Regions from separate parts of the Homo sapiens genome. Here region 1 is linked to region 2. The links are contacts of gene promoters, found by promoter capture Hi-C in blood cells and fetal thymus (Javierre and others, 2016). All regions are on one chromosome and are shown on one strand. Each heading gives the region's core, a stretch centred on a gene start or on the middle of the fragment in contact. The rest is flanking DNA. Distances are from core to core; before and after follow the strand shown. Region 1 overlaps CYFIP2 (cytoplasmic FMR1 interacting protein 2). Region 2 holds the start of RNF145 (ring finger protein 145).

What was found. Contacts are between HindIII fragments. The CHiCAGO score rates a contact against its expected background, and 5 or more counts as called.
Region 1: a contact is called between a fragment that was not itself captured here and the fragment with the promoter of RNF145 in region 2, in 1 of 17 cell types (activated CD4 T cells). The highest score is 5.8, in activated CD4 T cells.

Annotation. Positions count from the first base shown.
Region 1 is chr5:157,277,124-157,282,711 of GRCh38, reverse strand. The region is part of intron 1 of CYFIP2 (cytoplasmic FMR1 interacting protein 2); the gene reads right to left. Among named protein-coding and RNA genes, the nearest start is that of CYFIP2, 14 kb to the right of the region's middle. The HindIII fragment of the contact is 2,222 bases long and covers 1,177-3,398 here.
Region 2 is chr5:159,205,542-159,211,039 of GRCh38, reverse strand. It overlaps RNF145 (ring finger protein 145), which reads left to right and starts at 1,487. Exons shown (of 11, transcript NM_001199383.2): 1 at 1,487-1,809. LOC107986468 (a long non-coding RNA gene) reads right to left here and starts at 3,013. Exons shown (of 2, transcript XR_001742943.2): 1 at 2,360-3,013; 2 at 888-1,181. RefSeq lists enhancers at 1,015-1,114, 2,702-2,821, 2,932-2,981, 3,072-3,121, 2,721-3,376 and silencers at 1,285-1,574, 1,615-1,804. The HindIII fragment of the contact is 10,196 bases long and covers 1-5,498 here.

The DNA of each region.
Region 1 (5,588 bases), core at 1,038-3,537, 1.9 Mb after region 2:
GATGGCAAAATGACACAACTCCCGTAGGAGGAAATCTGGCAATATCTAACAAACTTCCATAAGCATTTTACCATTTGACCAGCAATCCCACTTCTAGGAATCTGTCCCAAAGATGCATTGACAAAAATACACAAAGATATATGCACAAGGCCATTCACAGCAGGACTACTTGTGATAGCAAAAACTGAAAACAGCAAACATCCATTGACATAGTTAGGATACTTGCCCTCACCCAAATCTCATGTTGAATTCTAATCCCCAGTGTTGGAGGTGGGGCCTGGTGGGAGGTGTTTGGATCATGTGGGCAGGTCCCTCATGAATGGCTTGGGCCATCCCCTTGGTGATGAGTGAGTTCTGAGTTCACAGGAGATCTGGTCATTTTAAAAGTGTGTGGCACCTCCCTCCCCCACACTGCCCACTCTCTTGCTCCTGCTTCCACCATATGGTATAACTGTTACCCCTCTGCCTTCTGCCATGATTGAAAGCTTTCTGTGGCCTCCCCAGAAGCTGAGCAGATGCTGGCACCATGCTTCCTGTACAGCCTGTGGAACCTTGAGGTCAATTAAACCTCTTTTCTTTATAAATTACCCAGTCTCAGATATTTCTTTATAGCAGTGCAAGAATGGCCTAATACATCCATTAACAGAGGACTGTCTGGATAAACTATGGTGCCACTGTACAGGGAAATATGAAGCAGCAGGAAAATGGAGTGAGGACCCTCTCTACATGCAACTACGGGTGATCTCCAGGACATGGTATGGAGAGCATGCACTCATTTACCCAGGAGAGGGGGCTGCAGATGTCTACACACACATCTTCTACTTAAAAAACAAACAATGGAAAGGCAAGCCATATGCTTTTAAAAATTAGTTACCTATGGAAAACAGGAAAAGAAGGGAAAACAGTTAAGAGATAGGGGCTAGAATCCTTTGAATATGCCTTATTTTGTAGATTTGACTTTGAAAACGTCAAAACATTTTACATACTTATAAAATAAAATTTAAATTTATAAAAAGTGGCCCCCAAATCGAAAAGTAAAATGAAACAAATGAATGTATATATATGTTGTACTATTGGAGTAACTCCACAGAAAGGGACTATTATTCCAAGTGATTTTAAAATCGAGTGATGTGCTGGAAGAGCCCTGATGGATCACAAAGACATCTAATAAAAGCTTGGTTTTTATTACTTTGTTACTGTTAGATGAGCCTGTGAACCAACCTTTATGTTGAGAATTGGTAAATAAAAGCAAACATTTAACCTGTCTTTCTTAAACTATACCACTAGATAACCGAACTATAGAAGAGATGGATGTTTCTTTCCATAAAAGTATTTTTTTCCTTTTTAACAGAAAAATGATAATATCCTTGTTTTCCAACCTCTACAAACAAATGGATCTAGGCACGGATCATCATCAGCTGTTAACATCCCTAAATGAAAGACAATCAGATATTATGTGCTTAATGATGGAAAAACGCACCAAGAATGCTGGATCCAAAACAAAACACCTGAATCTAATTAAGCCTTTGACGCCAACTCACAGGAAATATAAGAGGGCAGAAAAACATGCTACACCCCAGTGATGTAATCAGCAAAATGCAATCTATGACAAATTCTGCTGGACAAATGACTCAGGACCTCTAACAAATAAATTGCAAAGATAGAAAAGAGAGATGGGAGGAAAGTCTATAGATTTTGAAGAGACTGAACACACTATCATGTGTGGACCTTATTTGGATCCTATTTCAAACAAACCACCATACAAATAAAATTATAACTTTATGAGAAAATTAGAAAATTAGTACTGACTGGATATTTGATAATATGAAGGAAATATTGTATTTAGGTTTGATAATATCAAGGTTATGTTTTAAAAGAACCTATATCTTCCAGAAAGATCTACTAAAATATAGATAAAAGGACACAGGGTTTTGCTTCTAAATAATACTAGATGGGGGAAGAGTGAATAGAAATGAAACAAATTCGCAGTGAGTTAGTAACTATAGATTGTGTGTGACACATACATAGAAATTACTGTATTTTTCCATCCAATTTTATATATGTTTCAAATTTTTCATAAAATCCCCTAGATCAGTTTATAAGCTCCCAGCTCTTATCCAACTTCCCTTTTTTTCTCCTGTAACTAGGTTTCTTCTGGGCTACTCAAACTTAAAAAATACTCATTTACAGACGGGTGTGGTGGCTCACGCCTGTAATCCCAGCACTTTGGGAGGCTGAGACGGGTGGATCACCTGAGGTCAGGAGTTCGAGACCAGCCTGACCAGCCTGGTCAATTTTTCTTTAGTAGAAATCCCATTTCTACTAAAAATACAAAAAAAAAAAAAAAATTAGCCAGGCGTGGTGGTGGGTGCCTGTAATCCCAGCTACTCAGGAGACTGAGGCAGGAAAATCACTTGAACCCAGGAGGCAGAGGTTGCAGTGAGCCAAGATCATGCCATTGCACTCCAGCCTGGGCAACAAGGGCAAAACTTCATCACACACACACACACAAAAATACTCATTTACCAGAATAACCATTAAGTTCTCCTCTGTAGCATAATAGTACCCCTGAACATCCCTTGAAGAGAATCAATAAGTAAGTGAACAACCTACAAAGCAAATAAATTAGGAGTCTGTTTATGTTAATGCTATCTTTCTTCTCCCCTGGCAAATACAACTTCTGTAGTGGATTTCTATGAGCATTGGTAGATCATTCAGTGCCTAAGGGAGAAGGAAATCCGACATTTTTAGCTCAAGTGCTGGTAGGCACTGCCAAATCCACATCAATCAGAAAGGAAAAATATTCTGGAAATTTGAACAGAGGTATAAATGAAAATAAGAACGTACTTCTTTCCTGCCCAAGTGTCCTGCCTGTTACGCAATCTTCCAAGTGAGAATGATTCTTTATATTCGGTCTACGAACATGTGACCATTTCATCATTTTGAAAAAGAAATTAATAAAATATTTAAAAGTTAACAGTGTTCTGGGAGCATCATTTACCAAACACAGCTGCAAATTCTCAGTGGCGGGCATTCATGATGGGTTTAAATGCAGTGTCTTCATAACAAACTCAGTCGGTGGCCTGGTTTCACCAAAAGTAATAATAACATTGGGCACACAAGCAATTTGCTTCTGAGAAGGGGGGGCTTTAGGTGCCCCCCCAGGCAGACATGACTGACAGACCCCAAGCAAGAGGGGGGTGGGTCCCATAAATGCAGGGCGACTGCCAGGAGAACATGGCTTTGGAAATGCAGGTTCTGACATTTACAGCTTAAACCCTGTTTCTCTGTAAGCAAAATACTTGCATTGTCATTATCTGTTTGATTTTTCTGGAAAGAAATGAAATATTAAGACTTTTTACTGAAGTGAAATATTAGGCTAGTGTAGTGGGTAAGCTTGAGTTCTGGGTTTCAATCTGTCATCTGCCACTTATGAGCTATATAAACAATAGCATGTTCCTTAACCTCTCCGAGCCTCAGTTTCCTTACCTTGTAAGGGTGACAATTTACAATAGTGCCTGTCCTCAATGTTTATTTTGATTATATAACTACAGCATGTAGAATACTTAACACAGTAGCCAGCAAAGACATGTCAAAAGACAAAATTACAATAAATTTATAGAATTAATTGTCCTTAATTTGTGATTTATGAATTGAAGCACCTCCTTTCTATACAATAGAATGAAAGCTCCCACTGGGCAATAGCAAAACTGTGGGTTTTGTAAGGTGGGAATAAGAAAACACAACAATAGAAAAATAAATGATTAGTTAACATCAAGTTACTTCAGGTTACTTTTTTGTAAGGATTAAGGCAGAGAGGATTTGCTTATTATGCTGACTCAGGTAGAGAGTGGCATTTAGCATGAGTGACTCCATTTTGATTTGGTCTGGTTTTTAGGGGCCTAGTACAGGAGCTTAGTCTTAAACAATGGCCTCCCATACTTTCGTTTAACATTCGCTAGTCTGTGGCCTGTTTTCAATAGAGAGGATGAATTAAATACTCCAACAATTCTCCTACCAAAAAAAGGAAGGTTTATTATTATTACACTAATATCTCAGTTCTATAGATCTTTCACATTGATTTTCTCAATCACAACTATCCTGCAAATTCAATTCAGCAGGTATAATTTTTGCTGTGTTTCTGAGGACACTGTGTTATGGAGAAGTAAACACTTTTATTCAAGGTCACATGGTCAGCTAGTGGCAGAGGTAGGGTAGAAACAGGATACCTTGACTCCCAATTCTATGCCTTTTCTTCTAGACCACACCTGGTTTTGTACCTTTTTGAAAGGTGCCAAACATATTTTTTTCCCAGTTTGGCTGCTTTTTCCTTCCTCAAGAAGAACACAACTCTGGCAAGCTAGAAAGATTAGGTAATTGTCACCTTTGTGTTTCATGAACATCAAGAGGCCAGGAAATATTTTCCATGTCCGTATGGCGCTCCAGCCAGAGGCTATATAAGTATACGTACACACACACAAACATACTGCACACACATATACATATATATACACATATGTATACATATATTACTACAAAGAAAATATTATATAGATATATAAATATAAAAATAAATAAAAGGGAGATTTAGGTTGTTCCTATTAAAAAAATTTACAGTCATTTGCCTCATAATGATGCTTCAGTCAACAGTGGATCATATATATGATGGTGTTCCCATAAGATTATAATATCATATTTTTACTGTACCTTTTCTATGTTTAGATACACAAATACTTCCCACTGTGTTGCAATTGCCTACAGTATTCAGTACAAGAACATGCCGTACAGGTTTGCAGCCCAGGAGCAATAGGCTATATACCATATAGCCTAGGTGTGTAGTAGGCTATGCCATCCAGGTTTGTGTAAATGCACTCTATGATGTTTTCTTGGCCCCAGAATAAAACCCAAATACTGCTACTTCTTCCTCCCATGCCAGGACAGACATTGCTAATTGGTAATGACTCTATTTTCCACTAAGTCCACAGACAGCTTCAGAATCCTCATGAAATACTGAGCTCCAGGAAGCCACCAGCAATCAATCTGAGTTTGCCCATGAAATAAAACATAACATGCCCTCTCTGGAGTAGAACCATGCATGTGAAAGCTCCTCAAGGTCAGGGACCATTTTCTTACCTATCACTGAAAATGCAGAGACCTTAGCAGAGTGCTGCAAACAGATTAGGCACTGGGGAAGTACTGAATGAAAGAATTCATGAACACACCTCAATCTCCTGACAACATAGGAGAGAGGAGACGACCTGAAGTTGGCCATGTCCTTACTTCTAGTTTTTCCATTCCTTCTCCTTCACTATTAATAACACAGATAAGGCCAGACTCGGTGGCTACACAGATAAGACCGGACTTGGTGGCTACACAGATAAGGCCAGACTCAGTGGCTCATGCCTGTAACCCCAACACTTTGGGAGGCCAAGATGGGCGGATCTCCTGAGGTCAGGAGTTCGAGACCAGCCTGGCCAACATGGTGAAACCTCATCCCTAATAAAAATACAAAAATTAGCTGGGCATAGTGGTGCGCACCTGTAGTCCCAGCTACTCGGGAGGGTGAGGCAGAATTGCTTGAACCTGGG
Region 2 (5,498 bases), core at 238-2,737:
CTGTAATTTTTTTACTTACCAGGCTAGATTAAGAGACTCATGAACTGCATCACTGGGATGTGACAGGATTTATGACTATGGTGAAGTAGTCTGAGGCACCTGGATGAAAGGTGGTTATAGTGAGTTATGTACACAATTCCCACACATTTTAAACACTTGATTCCTACAGAGCTATCAAACTAATGGAAGGCAAGTTACTCAGAGTTTGGTTGACTGATACCTCCAGGGATTGCATTTTCTAAATACAGAGCTTGCTTTCACAATTTCAGCAGGATACAAGAGTGTTCAGAATTGGGGGTTTACCATTCAAAGGGCAGAGGCCAGAGACTTGAATTTACAAGGAGGGTCCTCAACACAGACATCGAGATTACAGTACATTAATTTCTCTTGCACATGAAGAAGTTGAGGCTTCACAATTTCAGCATGACCCAGTATAGTTGCAACATCTTACCCATCACTGGGTGTGTATCTTCTGTGTACACTGGCCCTTTCAACATCTAAGGCCAGGCTAGGTGCTCATAGCAACTGGCTCCCCAGGAACTAACGAAAGAGAAAGCAAGAAACAGTGGAGGGGTTTTGGTGATGGTGGAAGGCAGGGGAGATAGAAGTGGGGGTTGCAGAAGGTCGTGGTGAGGCAGAGTGGCAGACAAATGGGGAATGAGAAGTCTTGCCAAGCCCAGAAGACTATCGTTGTGTAAACACACAATATGCTTCAGGCTATGTATTCTGGGCAACAGTTCCTGCCCTAAAAGGTGTGGACATTTAAATTAGGGTAGGATTGCGCATTCTGTGATAGAGACTGGCACAGAGACAAAGTGGAACTCCTCTACGTTGGGGAGGGGAAAACATACATTAGCCTGTTTTGAACCTTAGACCAAGACAAGACAAACACACAAACACCATTTAATTTCATACTGCAATAAAATTCTTTGTACCAAACCATGGGATCAAAATTGTTACAGATACTCAGTGAACAGTTCCAATGCATTCATTCATCCAGTCACTTACTCCACAGGGGTTTGAGTGCCTGCACTTGGTGCTGGGCACGGCTGAGCCATCCCAGACGCCAAGGAGTTTACAGTCTAGTCCAGTCAGTGACGAGGTTAAAACGAATTCTCGCATCATTGCTACTGCGAATGCACCGGGACAGGATCAGCCCTTCAAATTCTCCCACGTGGTCCCTGCAGGTGAGTGTGGGTGTGAGCGCTTGCGGCCCGTGGTGTTTGGGAGTGAGAGAGCACGTGTGTCAGAATGGCGCCTGTCACAGTGCGCGTCCAGGTGTCTCTGCAGTACGCCTCTCCATAGCCACCCGAGCCGGGCTGTATGGGCTTGGCTAGGCTTATGTCTCCCGCCCACGCACCGGAGGCGGTGCGGAAAGCACTCCGCGGGCGCGATTGTGAGTGAGCGCGGGCGCGCGCGGGAGGGGCGCGCCGCGCTGGCTGGGCCGCGCGCAGGCGCAGAGTGCGGAAGTCGGGCCGCGGCCGCCGCAGAGCGCCGGGGGCGGGAGGAGCAAACGCAGGAGGCCATGGCCGCCGACGCCGGCGCCGGCTGCTAAGGGGCTCGGCCCGCGAGCGCCTGCTGCCGCGGACGATGGTGACCGTACGGGCCGGGCCGCTGCCGCTGCCGCTGCCTCCGCCTCCCCAGAAGCAACATCCGAGGCTCGGCGCAGAAGAGCCGCCGCTGTGAGCCGTGCCGTACCGGCCCCCGCCGCCGCCCGAGGAGAACGGGAGGGCGGGCGAGAGAGCCGGGGAGTTGCGGAGCCCGCCCGCCGGCAGCGCCGCTCCCCAGGGAGGGAGTCCGCAGCCTGAGGTGACCACGCCGCCCGCCCGGCCCCTTCCCATCCCCGCGCCCCCCGGCCGCTTCCCACGGCCTCCCTCCCCTCCCCCATCGCGTCGCAGGCTCCTTCCTCTTCTCCCTGTTCGCCCCTTTCCTTTTATCTCGCTTCACCTCCCTCTTCTCCCTAGCATTGGAGGAGTCCACATCCCCTCTTCAGCCGCAGCACCCCTCCCTCCCATCCTCTAGCTCTTCCCGCGGTGGTCGCCTCCCTCCGACCCTGCTCTCCCCTCCTGGGCCCCGCGCAAAGCCCCCTCTGTTCCAGCTCCCGGGCCTCGGCTGCCTCCCCGCCCTCCCATCCCTTCCTCTTCCCAGGGCCTGGAGCGCTCCCTTACATTCCTGAGATGCCCTTCCTCGGGGCTGTCCCCCTTTGCCTCCCCAGCATCCCATTTCTAGGCCTTTTTCAAGACCCTTCCAGAGCGGCCCCTTTCCAGCTCCCTTTCTCGTTTCCATTTCCAACTTTGCCTCTTTTGCCTCTTTGTTCACTTTGCTTCCAAGCTCCCCTCCCTCTTTCCCTTCGTCTTACCCTGCTTTGATCTACGCAGCCCCAAACTCAAGCTCCCCGCTTTCAGGTGGTGCGAGGTTGTTTGGGGGTGCGGAAGGGCCTGCCAGTCCATTTTTCGAGGGGGGCCCATTGCTCTGCATCCCGTCCGTCAGTCCCTTTTATAGTAAGAGGGCTCCTCATCCCTTCCTTTTTGTCCCCGTGGTTTCCTCTGTCTTGCCATCCCTTCTGTCTTCTCCCTCCAATACTGCTTTCCCCACCCAAGGACCCTCAGACCCGTGAACCCCCTTTCTGGAATGAGTTCCCTTTCTGTTCGGGGATGCTGAACTTCGCCCGCGTTTTTCTTCGCGAGCCTTTTGGTACGTGGCGTGGCGCGACAGAGTCAGCACCCTTGGCGAGATAGGAGGGGAGCTCTCGAGCCTCTTTCCTGGAAGAGTTTTTGCTGAACGTAATCTCTTAGCCCCGCGGCGGCGGCGGCCCGGTTGCTGCTGCTACTGCTGCTGCGCTGCCTGCTTGCCGCGAGCTGGGTTGGGGTTACTGTAGTTCAAACGCATCTGAGATCTGCAGGCGTTGTGGGAGGAGGTGCGGGGAGAGAGGAAGGGGCCTGTGCAGTGAGCAGGCATCAAAGATTAGTGGATGGCCTTGCGTCGCAGTCTGCAGTAAAGAGGAAACTAGTCTGAAAGGGAAGGAGAGGACTGTGTGTCTTTTTATTTTTTAAAATACGGAGTGTGCAGTTTTACTGAATCTTGAATCATGCCCAAAAGAATGAGCTGTCGGTGCTGCAGTCGTGACCCAGGCTGAGCGGCCGATGGCAGAGGTAGCAGTTTTATTTCCTCTCTCTGTTCCTTAAGTTGAAAGATGGCCTTTGTATTCAGAGTAGACTCCCTGTCTTTGCGGTTTGGGAGATGATGAGAAACCACAGAATTGCTAGTAGTTTATGTGGAGATCAGGTACATACAAAGTTAGCTAGCAAGGAGTGGGAGTGGGGAGGACCAGCTATATTTAAAACATGTGCCATTGCTTATGTAAGAAATGCGTTCTCTTTCCTGGTATCTCAGTTCTGGGCTTTTACTTAGAATTTTAGGCTCTAGCTTTGTGCTCTTAACATTTTCAGTGAGGCCTACCATCCTAACCGATGGACAGCCCGAAAATTTACTTTTCTTAAGATCAGTTTTAGTTGATGGTAGAATTTTTTTTTTTAACTGGTTGGGAGAAAGAAAGGAGATAATGGTGAATGATGATTTTTGTTTTTCTTTTTTAGGGGGAAGGTGTAGAAGTATTGTACTGAATAGTTTTAAGTTGGGTCACGTGTCATTCTTGTTTTTTCTTTGTCTTTTTAAAAAAAAGTTTAGGAGGTGTATTTTTGAAGAACTCAAATAAGAGAAATAAAAAATCACATTTTTCATTTCTCTTATTTGACATAGTTCTTCAGAGATTAGCTGTGACTGTAAAAACCTACATTTTTCTTATTCAGGACGATTTGTTTGGTTTCTTCATATTCAAAACTAAAATCCCGTATTTTCAGGAAAGTGTAGAATGAAGCCCCCTGTGTTTTCTAACCCACAAATTTGAATGGTAAACTGTACAGCATTATACTTCTACAAGACATTACTGTTTTCATAATTACGGATTGCTGCTTCTAAGCCTGAGAAGGTCATTTAATGAACTCATTGAGGTCTCCTTTTTGGTTAGCATTTGTTGCACCTCTTGTGGTTTTTGGAAAGAAATGCCTTTTTTTTTTTTGGTTTGTTTTTAGCTGTTTTACTGTGTAAAACATCTTTGAGTCACATTTAGTTTATGTTACCTGCAGACACATCATGTTGGATATTACTTTCCCAGTTCTTTTCAAAGTTCAAGGAGGACATTTTAAAATCTTGCATGGAAGATAAAACAGTATAGGAAGTTTATGTATTTGGCTTTGGGTGTGTTAAACCTTTCGGTTTTTTCTGCTTTCAGCTCTCCTGCTTATTTTCTAGGATTATTTGGTATTATTTTGTTTTCAAGAGAATATTGAGCTCCCCTGTACTTTAGGATATGCTGATTAGCCCTGTTTGACAATAAATCTGGAACAGGATAAATTAGGCAACATTATAAAGGTATTCTCTAGATCAGGAGAGAAGGCTCCATTTTACTTCGTGTTTGTATGATATAGTGATTTGGCAGGTGTGAGTAATTGCAAGTACTTGCAAAGAAGATGAATATTTTAAAGTTTTGTTTTGATGTTGGTTTAGTGTGTGGTGCTAAAGTGTAGTGTAAAGTACCTATTTGTATTGATAACTATCATGTGCTCTTTTACTTTAGAAGGGTTCAAAGTGATAAGGTTTTGAAATTTTTTTCTCTTTGATTTTCCATGTATTAAATTTGTTTCGTCAGTGCCTTTATACATGACCAGCTTGCCACTGACTTGCTAAAATAACATTCACGTATAGAAATAAATGCAACATTTAGTTTCGTTTATTTGGGCGTATTTAATTCTATCCAAAGTCCTTGTTAAAAACATTTCAGTCTCGAGTTGACTATGTAGTAGAGGGGGATCTTGGATATTGTTTTTTATTGACAGCTTTCGGGACCCGGTATTTTCTCTTTATAGAAATAGAAATGTGTCCTGTTTTCTGTTTCTTATTATATTTGTTAGGCAGGAGTGGTGGGTGGAAATAAAGAGGGAACATGTACCATTCTGCTAATGGACTTTTGTAATAGAGATGATCCTCTGTACGGATTAGGGAGTTTTTCTTCCCTAGCAGATCTTGATTTCTAAAGCAGGATTAGTTATTTGTTTAGTTTAAATTTTCTTCTTTACCCGTTTAGGAGCCACAGTAAATGGTGAAAATGGGCACATTTTAAAATAGCAAAGCATTGAAAAAAGAGAAAGGTTCCAAATCAAATGAAATAAATATGGGCTACAAGTGTTAAATCAGTAATAGCTCCTCCCTCTCTTGTTACTTATAAAAACAGAGTAATGATTTATATTGGATTCCAGAATATAGAAAAATAGTTACTTTTCGATGGCAGTATAAAGACTGTCAGTAATACTGTCATCTCAGTACGTGGTGATTTTCAAATATGGTGGCTGGTGGTTTGTGAGAAGATCTATTCAATATTACTTTGAAATAAATTCCCAAGAGGGTATTGGGTTATCAGTTTGCTCACCAAAGTAAGTCTT